2 separate regions of the Homo sapiens genome follow, and region 2 is linked to region 1. The links are contacts of gene promoters, found by promoter capture Hi-C in human tissues and cell types (Jung and others, 2019). All regions are on one chromosome and are shown on one strand. The core of a region is centred on a gene start or on the middle of the fragment in contact, and the rest is flanking DNA. Distances in the headings are between cores, read along the strand shown. Region 1 holds the start of PLIN1 (perilipin 1). Region 2 overlaps SEMA4B (semaphorin 4B).

Region 1 (5,249 bases), core at 175-2,674:
GAGATGGGGTTTCACCATGTTGGCTAGGCTGGTGTCGAACTCCTGACCTCAAGTGATCCACCTGCCTAGACCTCCCAAAGTGCTGGGATTACAGGCATGAACCACCACACTGGCTAATTTTTGTATTTTTAGTAGAGATGGGGTTTCATCATGTTGGCCAGGCTGGTCTCGAACTCCTGGCCTCAAGTGATCTGCCCACCTTGGCCTCCCAAAGTGCTGTGATTACAGGCAAGAGCCACCATGCCCGGCCAAGAATAATGTTTCCTATAAGAGTTCAGGTTAAGAGGCCAGGCGCGGTGGCTCAGGCCTGTAATCCCGGCACTTTGGGAGTCCAAGGCAGGCAGATCACCTGAGTTCAGGAGTTCAAGACCAGCCTGGGCAACATGGTGAAACTCCGTCTCTGCTAAAAATACAAAAATTAGCCAGACGTGGTGGTGGGCAGCTGTAATCCCAGCTACTTGGGAGGCTGAGGCAGGAGGATCGCTTGAGCCTGAGAGGTGGAGGTTGCAGTGAGCTGAGATCCTGCCACTGCACTCCAGCCTGGGTGACAGAGGGAGACTCTGTCTCAAAAAAAAAAAGGAGTTCAGGTTAGGAAATAAAAAATGCAGGTAGCCATAAGAGATAAAAAGTTTTAGATAAAATCTTAAGGCTCTTAAATGAGGGTCCAAAAGAGACTAAAACAAGAAGTTTCAAGCTGGGTGCACTGGCAAGCACCTGTAATCCCAGCTACTGAGGCTGACATGGGAGAATTGCTTGAGCCCAGGAGTTTGAGATCAGCCTCGGCAATACAGTGAGATGCCCATCTCTAAAAAAATAAATAAACAAGTTAAAGGTTTCATCTTTGAAAAGGCTCTGGGTTAATTCCTCTATTTCTCTCTTTCTCTCTGTCTGTCCCTCTCCCCCTCTCCCTATCTGTTTTTTGAGACAGGGTCTCAATCTGTTGCCCAGGATGGAATGTGGTGGCACGATCATGGCTCAATGCAGCCTTGACCTCCTGGGATCAAGGTACCCTCCCACCTCAGCCTCTCATGTAGCTGGGACTACAGGCATGCACCACAATGCAGGGCTAATTTTTTCTCTTTTTTTATAGAGACAGGATCCCACTGTGTTGCCCAGGTTGTTCTTGAACTCCTGGGCTCAAGTGATCCACCTGCCTTGGCCACCTGCAGTGCTGGGATTAAAGGCATGATCCACTGTGCCTATCCAATTCCTCTATTTCTAGATTCTGGTATCTATACCAGAATCTCTCCCTCAGTAGTTTCCCTGCAGAGTTTTTCATCCCCAGCAAAATCCCCAAGAGGCCCTTACCTTCAACTTCTTCCCTTTAATGTTCATAAACAAGCCATGTAAGGCAGGTGCCCCAGGACCCCAACACTCACTCCGGCTGACCGCCACCTCAGTCTCACAGAGCCCAGGCTGCAGAGTGTCTCCTCAGGCAGAAACAATTCCTGTCACTCCTGGGAGGCTTGGGCAATGCTGCTTCCACCTCCCAGCTAGAGGAGGGCAGAGAGGGAGAGACAACAGGGTCAGCCAGTTGTCATGGTTATATGACCCAGGGTTCCCCAGGCATATCCTAACTTCTCTAAGGACATTTAGCAAACAAGGAGGTAGGTGGCAGAGCTGAAGGAGATCCAGGCTCAGAGGACTTAGTATTCCAGAGCCATGAAGCATCAGTTCTGTAATGTTCCTGCCCTCAATTCACAAAAATCTGCTTTCCAGAAAGAAGGTATAGGGATAGACATCATTAAACTCAAAAGCTCTAAAGTTCTATATACCTCTGCAATCTTTTGGCTCCTTTTCCATAGAGGGTCTTGTGGGAGTTTTCAATCCATTTCTCTCATCTTTTCTTATTTACTAGCAAGACTGAATGCTGAACAGTAAAATTTAAACCCACACAGAAGAGTTCATCTGAATGTATTCATCTTTGATTATGGAGATAAATTGCCCTCAGTGAAGAAGCGACAGAGCCGGGAGTTGAGTTTTTGACAATATAGCCTTTGAGTTGAGGGAGGAATTCCCACTTCTTAGAATTCAAAAAAATTTATTGAACTTTACCTGGCCTAAGATGCTACCAGAATGAAGAGTAGGAGAGCCAAGTAGATTTTTATTCTCCTGGGTCTGGATAAGCGACAGTGTTGACTAGGATTCTATCACTAATCAAGAGCACCCAGACAGCCAAGAATTAGCACCACTCAACCCTTCTTTACCCAGGACTCAAGCACAAGCCCAAGTTCTAGTTCCTGGCTTTAGATATGATGGAGGACTATGGTATAAGCCATAGCTTTCAGATTAACTAAGAAGGGCCTCTTCATGAAAACAGACAATAGGAAAACAAAACTTATTTTCTTTGTTGCTGGTGGAATTATATGTATTGTTGACTCTGTTAAGTCACACAGTGTGGGCAAGAGAAGAAAGAGGCAGGGGTGGGGAATTATGAAAGATCCTTGGTAATAAATTACGTATCTGTGATGCAATAAAGTAGGGAATGAGAAGGCAGGAAAGGGAGGAGTCAAGCAGGGAGGCTTCAAAGGAGTAATACGCTATACGTTTAATACTTATTGATCCAACCTGTGCTTTTCAAATGTAAGGCAGTAGAGAAGACAAAGTATTTAAAGAAGTGGCCTCTGCCCTCACCTCAAGGTTCAGCACAAATTATCTGTGAGGCTGTGACTGGACAGCAACCTGAGCCAAAGGGCAGTTTTCAGCCTTCAGAGTAGTGGCTTTGGGCCAGAGGGAACATAGGGCTTTGTGCCTGAAAGCTCTGCCAAATCAAATAGTCCTTTGGCTGCTTTAGCTGGGAGTGCAGAATGTGGGTGAGAGGTGAGAAGTGGTGAAAGGGCCTAGGAGAGTCCCGAGGGAAGACAGAAGTGTTAGTTTTCTAGCAGTAGCTTGCAGGGCATAGAGTTCTATCTTCTTTCCTTCTCCGTACCTACCTGCTTTCCCTACCCCTCCACCAAGTGAGAGCAGGGACCTAGGTCATCTTGCTCACAAGTGGATACCCAAAACCATGCATGGCACTCAAACATTCATTGTTGAATAAATGAATTGTCAGGCAACAATGCTCAGTTGTGAATGTGCTGGGCTGTACATCTACGAAGAACTTCTTCGATTTTTGGCATCCCTCATGAATGTGGAGGCTCTGGGGTGGAAAACATTAGTTACAAAGAAGGATTCACAGGGTGGTACCAGGACACCATTAAGGTTTACACAAACCTCTTAGAAGAGGTAGTATTTCCCAAACTCCCCACCACTCACCATTGCAGAGGACAAAAGTACCAAGATGGATACCACTGTAACATAACATACCACCATGAATTCAAGGCAGACTTACCTAGGCAGAAGCCAGCCAGCGATTGACAGGGCTACTGTAGAGCACCATCTCCATGGCAGCAGTCTAGATGAGTTCATTTCAGAGGTCCCTCTCAACCCAGAGGCTCTACATCTCAATCTTTCTCCATCCTCCTCCTCAGCCTGGATCTTCTAGCCCAGAGCTCGCTGTACCAACTGTGTAGGCTGATTGAGGATTATCTGATGGATTGCCTTATGTTTAACTCTTCTCTCTTCCCAGAACACACTCACAGACACAAGTCAATTTTGTCTAGAAATTTATTGAACATAGTTAATCTATTACAGTAGAGGATCTGGACAATAAAAATAGTTATTTAAGCTTTTTATTTTCCCTGACCTAGTAGCTTTCATGTCTCTTAAAATTCCCTAAATTTTATTTCTCAAATCCCATATCGTGATTGGTTAAACAGACAGCCAAGAATCTGAGTCTATTTTTTGAGAATCTCAATCACATTTCTGGGAAATGTGACTTATTGAGTACATATTTATTTTCTCATTTCCATTCAGATAAATGACACAGCTTTGCTGGGAGGACTGACATCGGCCTCCTACCTGCTGGCATCCTATTTCTCTACCTCACCTCCCTCAAACTAAAGGATCTGTAACCACATATAAAGACCCACACCCAAGATGGCAGATAGGAACACAAGTCAATGTCATTGACTCAGCATTCCATTGTCCTCTTCACTGGCTTCCTCCTGCGCTTTCCACCTCCCTCAATCACCCTAGAAATAAGATGTCTGATTTATCGTAGAAAATTGTGACTCTCTTACATCTGGAGTATTCATGAAATTTTTTTGACTGGATAAATTTTGATGAAAATTAATGTAGAATTGCCTAAATTGTTAGAAGGATTTAAATAAAACAATCTAACTGATAAGTCTAAATACTGTCTTAATTTTTTTTTAAGACACAGGGTCTTGCTCTATCACCCGGGCTGGAGTGCGGTGGAAGCTCACTGCAGCCTTGAACTCCTGGGCTCAAGTGATCCTCCTGCTTCAGCCTCCAGAGTATCTGGGACTACAGGCATACTCCACCATGCCTGGCTAATTTTTTAACACTTTGTTGTAGAGAAGGAGTCTCACTACATTGCCCAGGCTGGTCTTGAACTCCTGGCCTCAAGCAATCCTTCCGCTTCAGCCTCCCAAAGTGCTGGGATTATAGGTGTGAGCCACCACACTCCACCCAGTTTTAGTTTTTCTAGAAAAGAATATAAACCACTGGACAAGGAAATTTCCAAATTATGGGAGAGTAAGAGGCAAAAAACAGGATTCAGGAGGGGATCACATTTCTACTCAATTCTGAAGACAGTGGGAGAGCATGGAGAGAACACTGGATTAGGAGTCAGAGGAATGAGGCTCTAGCCTCAGTTTTTTGTTTGTCTCACTGTCAGCTTCTTATCTGTCACAGGCTACATATAGGCACCCATTGTGACCCTGTACCTATTTTTATAAGTCCCTCCGGTCTGCTTCTGATTTTTGCTTATTCACTGCACCCATAGACACAATTTATACCATGAAGGTGCCTGATGCTTTTCTGATTCTACTTCTGCACAGAGCAAGGACATGAGTGCAGTGATGGTATAAGGGCCAACAAGTTGAGAGGCTGTAAGCCCAGCTCTCCTCCATCCTGCTACTGACATCAGAGCCTCTACTAGATCTGAGAGTGCCATGCACCAGACCTACTGTAATCGTGAAACCAATGATCCATATGACCCTAAAGTTATTGTATACTGGTGTTCAATGATCAGTGCGATTGGGTCTTTTTAAATTTTTTCCTTTCAATTTTTATTCATTCAGCAAATACTAAGCTCCCACTATGCACATAAGAGATGTTCAATCAATGTTAGATGAAGGGAAAATATTCAGAAATTCACAAGTCACTCCAGCACTCCAAAAACA
Region 2 (5,408 bases), core at 2,496-4,995, 530 kb after region 1:
TCTCTGGGCTGGAGCACTCTCACTGGGACTGTGTCATTCATTTGTTTAGTCAACAAACATTTATGGAACAACTGCTGGGAGCTCACCTGACCAGTTGATACAAATATGAATAAGACATGGTCTTGATCTTGAAGATGCTGTCAGCTTGGTGGAAAAGAAGAGCACAAAGACCGGGCGCGGTGGCTCACACCTGTAATCCCAACACTTTGGGAGGCCGAGGCAGGCGGATCAGCTGAGGTCAGGAGTTCAAGACCAGCCTGGCCAACATGGTGAAACCCCATCTCTACTAAAAAAATATATATATATATACAAAAATTAGCCGGGCATGATGGCGGGTGCCTGTAATTCCGGCTACTCAGGAGGCTGAGGCTGAGGCGGAAGAATCGCTTGAACCCAAGGTTCAAGGTTGCAGTGAGCCAAGATCATGCCATTGCACTCTAGCCTGGGCGACAGAGCAAGACTGTCTTAAAAAAAAAAGAGAGAAGAGCGCAGAAAGACCCTCCTCATCATCATCAAACATCAAACATTGCCATCATCCGACAGTGTCACCAGTGCACTACAAGACGTGTGAACAGGAAATGATGGGCATACGGAGAAGGGCCCTTGCCCAGCCGGGGATCCAGGAAGGCCTCCTGGAGGAGGTGGAACTGAGCCAAGTCTCAAAGGATGAGTGTGAGTTAGTCAAAAGGAAAGCCTTCTGGGTGGAGGGGACTTCCTGAACAGACCGGAGATGAGAGAATTGGGCCCTTGAGTTGCAGTTCCATGTCACTTGGTCGAACCAAGAGGTGGGTGGGTGGCAAGCACTAGCAAGTTAGGAGCTTGGACGACGGGGTGCTATTGAAGTTTTTAGGCAGAACAGTGACGGCTCCCAGAGAGCCCTCTGGCTGCAGCATAGCAGCTGGCCTGGAGATGGGAGGCTGGTTGGGAGGCTGCTGTGATGGTGGCCTAGGTGAGAGAGGATGGTGCCAGGCTCAGGACTGCGGTAGTGGGGATGGTGAGGGGAATGGATTTGGAAAATATTGAGAGAAAATTGGCAGGATTTGATTATAGACTGGACTTCTGAGGAAGGAGGATGGTGAGACACCCAGGTGAGTGGTGCCACACACAAACACAAAATGCCAAGCCAGGGAGTGGGACTGGAAGGGGGCGGTGAGGTGGTGGGAGGCACCCACAGAGGCCCTTCTGCACTGTGGGGTCTGGTGTGTTGGAGGAAGATCTGCACTTGGATGAGGAGATTTGGGGATCGCCAGCATCCGCGTCATTGAAGTGATGAGCATGGACGTGTGACCCAGGGGCTTGAACGGAGTTAAGAAGAGCAGGGCCAGGAGCAGACAGACCTAGAGAGCAAGAACATTCAGGAGCAAAGCCTGAGGCAGGAGGGTGGTCATCAACACAGATGCTGCAGCCAGGTGGCCCAGGGTCGGGCGGCATCCCCACCACTCCTCCCGGGGATGACTTGCACCTGAAACAGAGGTAATAAAACACAGCAGCCTTGTGAGGATGACATGACTTAATCCGTTTAAAGGGCTGAGAAAGTGCTCACATACTTTAGCTCTTTGAGGGCTAGAGGCCCAGAAGGCATGTGAGGGAGACACGGAGTGATGCTTGAGACTGGGGGCACAGGTACCTAGAGGACGGGGTGGCGTGGCCCGTGTCTGGGGTCTGTCAGCGAGGCGATCCCTGGGCTCTTGGCAGGGCTGGCACTGCTGAACGTGGGGCTGGCTGAGGCCCAACTTCTGTGGAGGAGTGAGTGGAAGGTGAGAGGCAGAGATGGCATGGGGTGGCTGTTCTCTTTGGGAGCTTGTCTAAGGCAGGTGGAGGGAGGCACAAAAGTTTCTAGAATGGACATTGGAACAAAAACTGCTTTCTGACAGGTAGAGTTGGTGACATAGGATTTGGTCTCTGAGGAGATGGGGTGGGAAGTTGAGGTTGTTTATGCCTGATGACCCCGATTTCCTTGGAAGAAGTGGAGACATCTATAAAAGCAGGAAGGCAGACCCAGGGCAGAGGCCCTAGAAGCCGGGTTGTTAGAGGGGAGCCAGCCCCTGAGCAGAGGGACTGAGCGTGTCCCTGTGTAGACCTGTGAGCAGGCAGGCGGCAGGCAGGCTCCTAAGGTGACGGCAGTGGTCTGTGCACCCATGGCACAGGCCCTAGGTCGGGACTGGGACTGCCTGGGGGTTCTGGCAGAGGCTCTTCGTCTGCCCACTTGGGGCTGTAGCAATGGCTTTCCGGGGCATGCCCCAGGAGCACAGATGCTGTGAGGCCAGGTTCCCTTGCCCTCGTTGCCACTTTCTTGGTGACCTCAGTCCATGGGAGGACCCTTGGCACACAATACCCCCAACCTCTGCCCAGAGTCCCTGGTCAGGGACTCGACTCTGGCACTGGGCTGGTGTCAGCAGAATGTGGCCCCCTCCTCCATGCTCCATGAGGAAGAAGTGGCTGCCCTGCCCAACACGGGCCGTGTGGAGGAAGGAAGTGCACCCAGGTTGGCAGTGTGTCCCAGTTTCCTGCTGACTGTGGCCCCGTCAGCACTCCTGCCCTGGAGGTGGGGCTGCTGCTGGGGTAAGTGGGTCCAAGGTTCTGGTGACTTATCGTGACATCCCTGGGGACGAAGGGCTACAACAGCCTTTCAGGAGGCTCTCTGGGGACTTGTCCCGCCCAGACCCCTCTCTGAGAGTGGGGGAGGCCACTGGCTGCCTCCTTGCATTGGAGGCCCCTTCCCCACCGACTCCACAGGGAAGCTGGTGTTTTCTGGCCTGATCCTGCTGGGGCCTGTAGAGGGTGGGATGTTAGGGCCAGGTCAGCGTCTTGCTGCCGTGCCCGGAGCCACAGTAGAGAGAAAGGTGGGGTGGGGTTCTGAGTCACAGCGCTGCTGCAGCTAGCTGGCTGGCCTGGGGTGGGGACTAACCAGGGTGGGGATGGTGCTGAGCCCTATTCCTGTCTCACCCCAGAGAGCTCCAGGCTTCCGGCTGAGTCACAGGGAAGGAGGACCCTTACATGGGGCTGAGGGCTGAGTATTCCCACATCACTTCCTACTCAGAACCCCACTTCCTACTCAGAACCCCACTTCCTGGGGTGGGGAGTGGGGACCCTGCAGGTGACTCTTATGTGCCCATTCCATGTGCCGTCTCCCTCCAGGGAGGGACAGGGCAGCCCCAGACCAGCCCCGGTCTGCCTTTTTGAAGGATGATCTGCCTAGTGGGATGCACTGGCCTTGGTGAAGCCCCTGGCTGAAGCCTGTCGGGGTGGAGGGAGAGGGTTCACCCTGAATGGGAAAACCGGCCGCAGCCTCGGCGTGCCCTGCTTTCTTCATACTGGACTAACCCACTGGATAGATGGATTTAGAGGATGTCCGAGCAGCACAGGCAGCCCAGGAGAGCGAGCGAGACACTCTTTGACACAAGGGAGAGCATAAAAGCTTAAGACTGACCCCAAGGTGCGCCAGCCCCTCGCAGGAAGTAAAGTGCAGAAACACCTCCACCCCTGCACAAAGAGCACCTAGGAGTGAGTGCGCAAGCGTGGACAAGCCCTGCGGTACCGTGTACACACACACACACACACACACACCACAGGCAAGCTCAGGCAGGGTCCTTCACAGACGTCTGCAGTCACTCTGGAGGTGACCCAAGCACCTGGGCCCTTAGACAGTAACACCACTCACACCGAGCACAGACCAGCTCGCGCCCACAACACGAGCCTGTGACACGCAAGTCTCTGTTTCTGAGCTGATGCCGTCTGGCTTTGGCCATGAGACCCTCGTGTGACCAGGTGCGTGCCTAAGTTAGAATCGCCCAGGCTAAGTTCGTGAACCCCCTGGATGAGGGAGGCCCGACTCCCGCAAGGAGCCCTGCCCTTCTGCCAGCTCTCACCGGGCCGGATTTTCCTGCGGGGCTTTTGGATTTTGTTTTTGAGTCACTCATTGAGTGTTGGTCGCGTGCCAGACACCATGCCACACTGCAAACCATGTGCAACGTTGTTTTAGCAAAGCTGTCTCAGTAAATGTGGGTTATTATGTATATTATTATTTACATACGTAATCTCATTTTTTCTAATAACAACCCCATGAGGCAAAGTGTTATTATTTTCCCCATTTTACAGATAAGGAAAACGGGGCTTTGAGAGGTTAAGTGGCGTGTCCTGGTGGCACACAGCCAGTAAGTGGTAGAGGATGGCTTTGAACCCAGGTCTCTAACTCTACTCTGCACACCATGGCTTTCAGTCTGACTCTCAGGGCAGAGAGATGAGGCAAGTGTGGAAGGGAAGCCCCAGAAGGGGAAAGCCTGGTTAAGGGGCCCTTCACCCCCCTCTCCAAGGCACATTCCCCTTTCTGTCCCTTTGTCGTTTCATTCACTCTACTCCCAGCATGGCTGGAGGGCTTGTGGCTGGCTCGTTTGGAGGCCTGGGCTGAACCAGGGACTGGCTGGTCTATAGGTTTCCCCTCCAGCCGGCTGCACTCTGTAGTGCCCGAGGCAGGTTTCCACCCCTTCTCCCAGGCGTAAGTGGGATTGAGTTGCCACCTGGGACTGAGGCTTATCTCTGACTCTTGGCATTTCTTTGTCTGGACAGATTCCAAGGGCGGTCTGCTGCCCAGACTTACAGGGCCTGCCCAGGTGGAAACGCTCTTTTGCAGGTAGATAAGCACGGGCAACCAGCTTATCTGAACCAGCCCTTGCTTCCAGAGAACTATGGAAAAATCCAAAAGATAAGAAGGGACCGCAGTGTCTGTCTTGGTCTCACTCCTCTTGAGACTCCTGTGATCTTTATATGTCTCATTCCTCCCGTGACATGTATGAGAAACTGCAGCTCATTGAGACGATGTCTCTGCTGCCTGACAGAAGGGCCTACTTGAGGGCCGGGCTCGGTGGCTCAGCCACCTGACCCCCGTCATCCTGTTAACTAGTGTCACCCCCACCCGAGGGCTTCCTTCCCCATTTGCTGCCAGGTGTAAAGCTGAGCTTCGGCTGGGCGCGGTGGCTCAGGCCTATAATCCCAGCACTTTGGGAGGCTGAGGCAGGCGGATCACCTGAAGTCAGGAGTACGAGAGACCAGCCTGGCCAACATGATGAAACCCTGACTTTACTGAAAATACAAAAATTAGCTGGGCATGGTGGCAGGCACCTGTAATCCCAGCTTCTTGGGAGGCTGAGGCAGGAGAATCGCTTGAACCTGAGAGGTGTAGGTTGCACCATTGCACTCCAGCCTGGACAACAAGAGAGAAACTCCGTCTCAAAAAAAAAAAAAAAAAAGGGCTGAGCTGCTGGGCGTGGTGGCTCACGCCTGTAATCCCAGCACTTTGGGAGGCCGAGGCGGGTGGATCACATGAGGTCAGGAGTTCAAGACCAGCCTGACCAACATGGAGAAACCCCGTCTCTACTAAAAATACTTTGCCGGGCGTGGTGACATATGCC

What was found. Contacts are between HindIII fragments. The study calls those that stand out against the background at their distance.
Region 2: a fragment that was not itself captured here is called in contact with the fragment with the promoter of PLIN1 in region 1 in 1 of the 25 tissues and cell types used here (liver).

Annotation. Positions count from the first base shown.
Region 1 is chr15:89,677,943-89,683,191 of GRCh38, forward strand. It overlaps PLIN1 (perilipin 1), which reads right to left and starts at 1,425. Exons shown (of 9, transcript NM_002666.5): 1 at 1,309-1,425. PEX11A (peroxisomal biogenesis factor 11 alpha) reads right to left here. Exons shown (of 3, transcript NM_003847.3): 3 at 3,593-5,249. The HindIII fragment of the contact is 12,360 bases long and covers 1-5,249 here.
Region 2 is chr15:90,209,101-90,214,508 of GRCh38, forward strand. All of the region lies in intron 1 of SEMA4B (semaphorin 4B), which reads left to right. Among named protein-coding and RNA genes, the nearest start is that of SEMA4B, 10 kb to the left of the region's middle. RefSeq lists enhancers at 570-619, 2,155-3,354 and a silencer at 3,418-3,592. The HindIII fragment of the contact is 4,496 bases long and covers 1,498-5,408 here.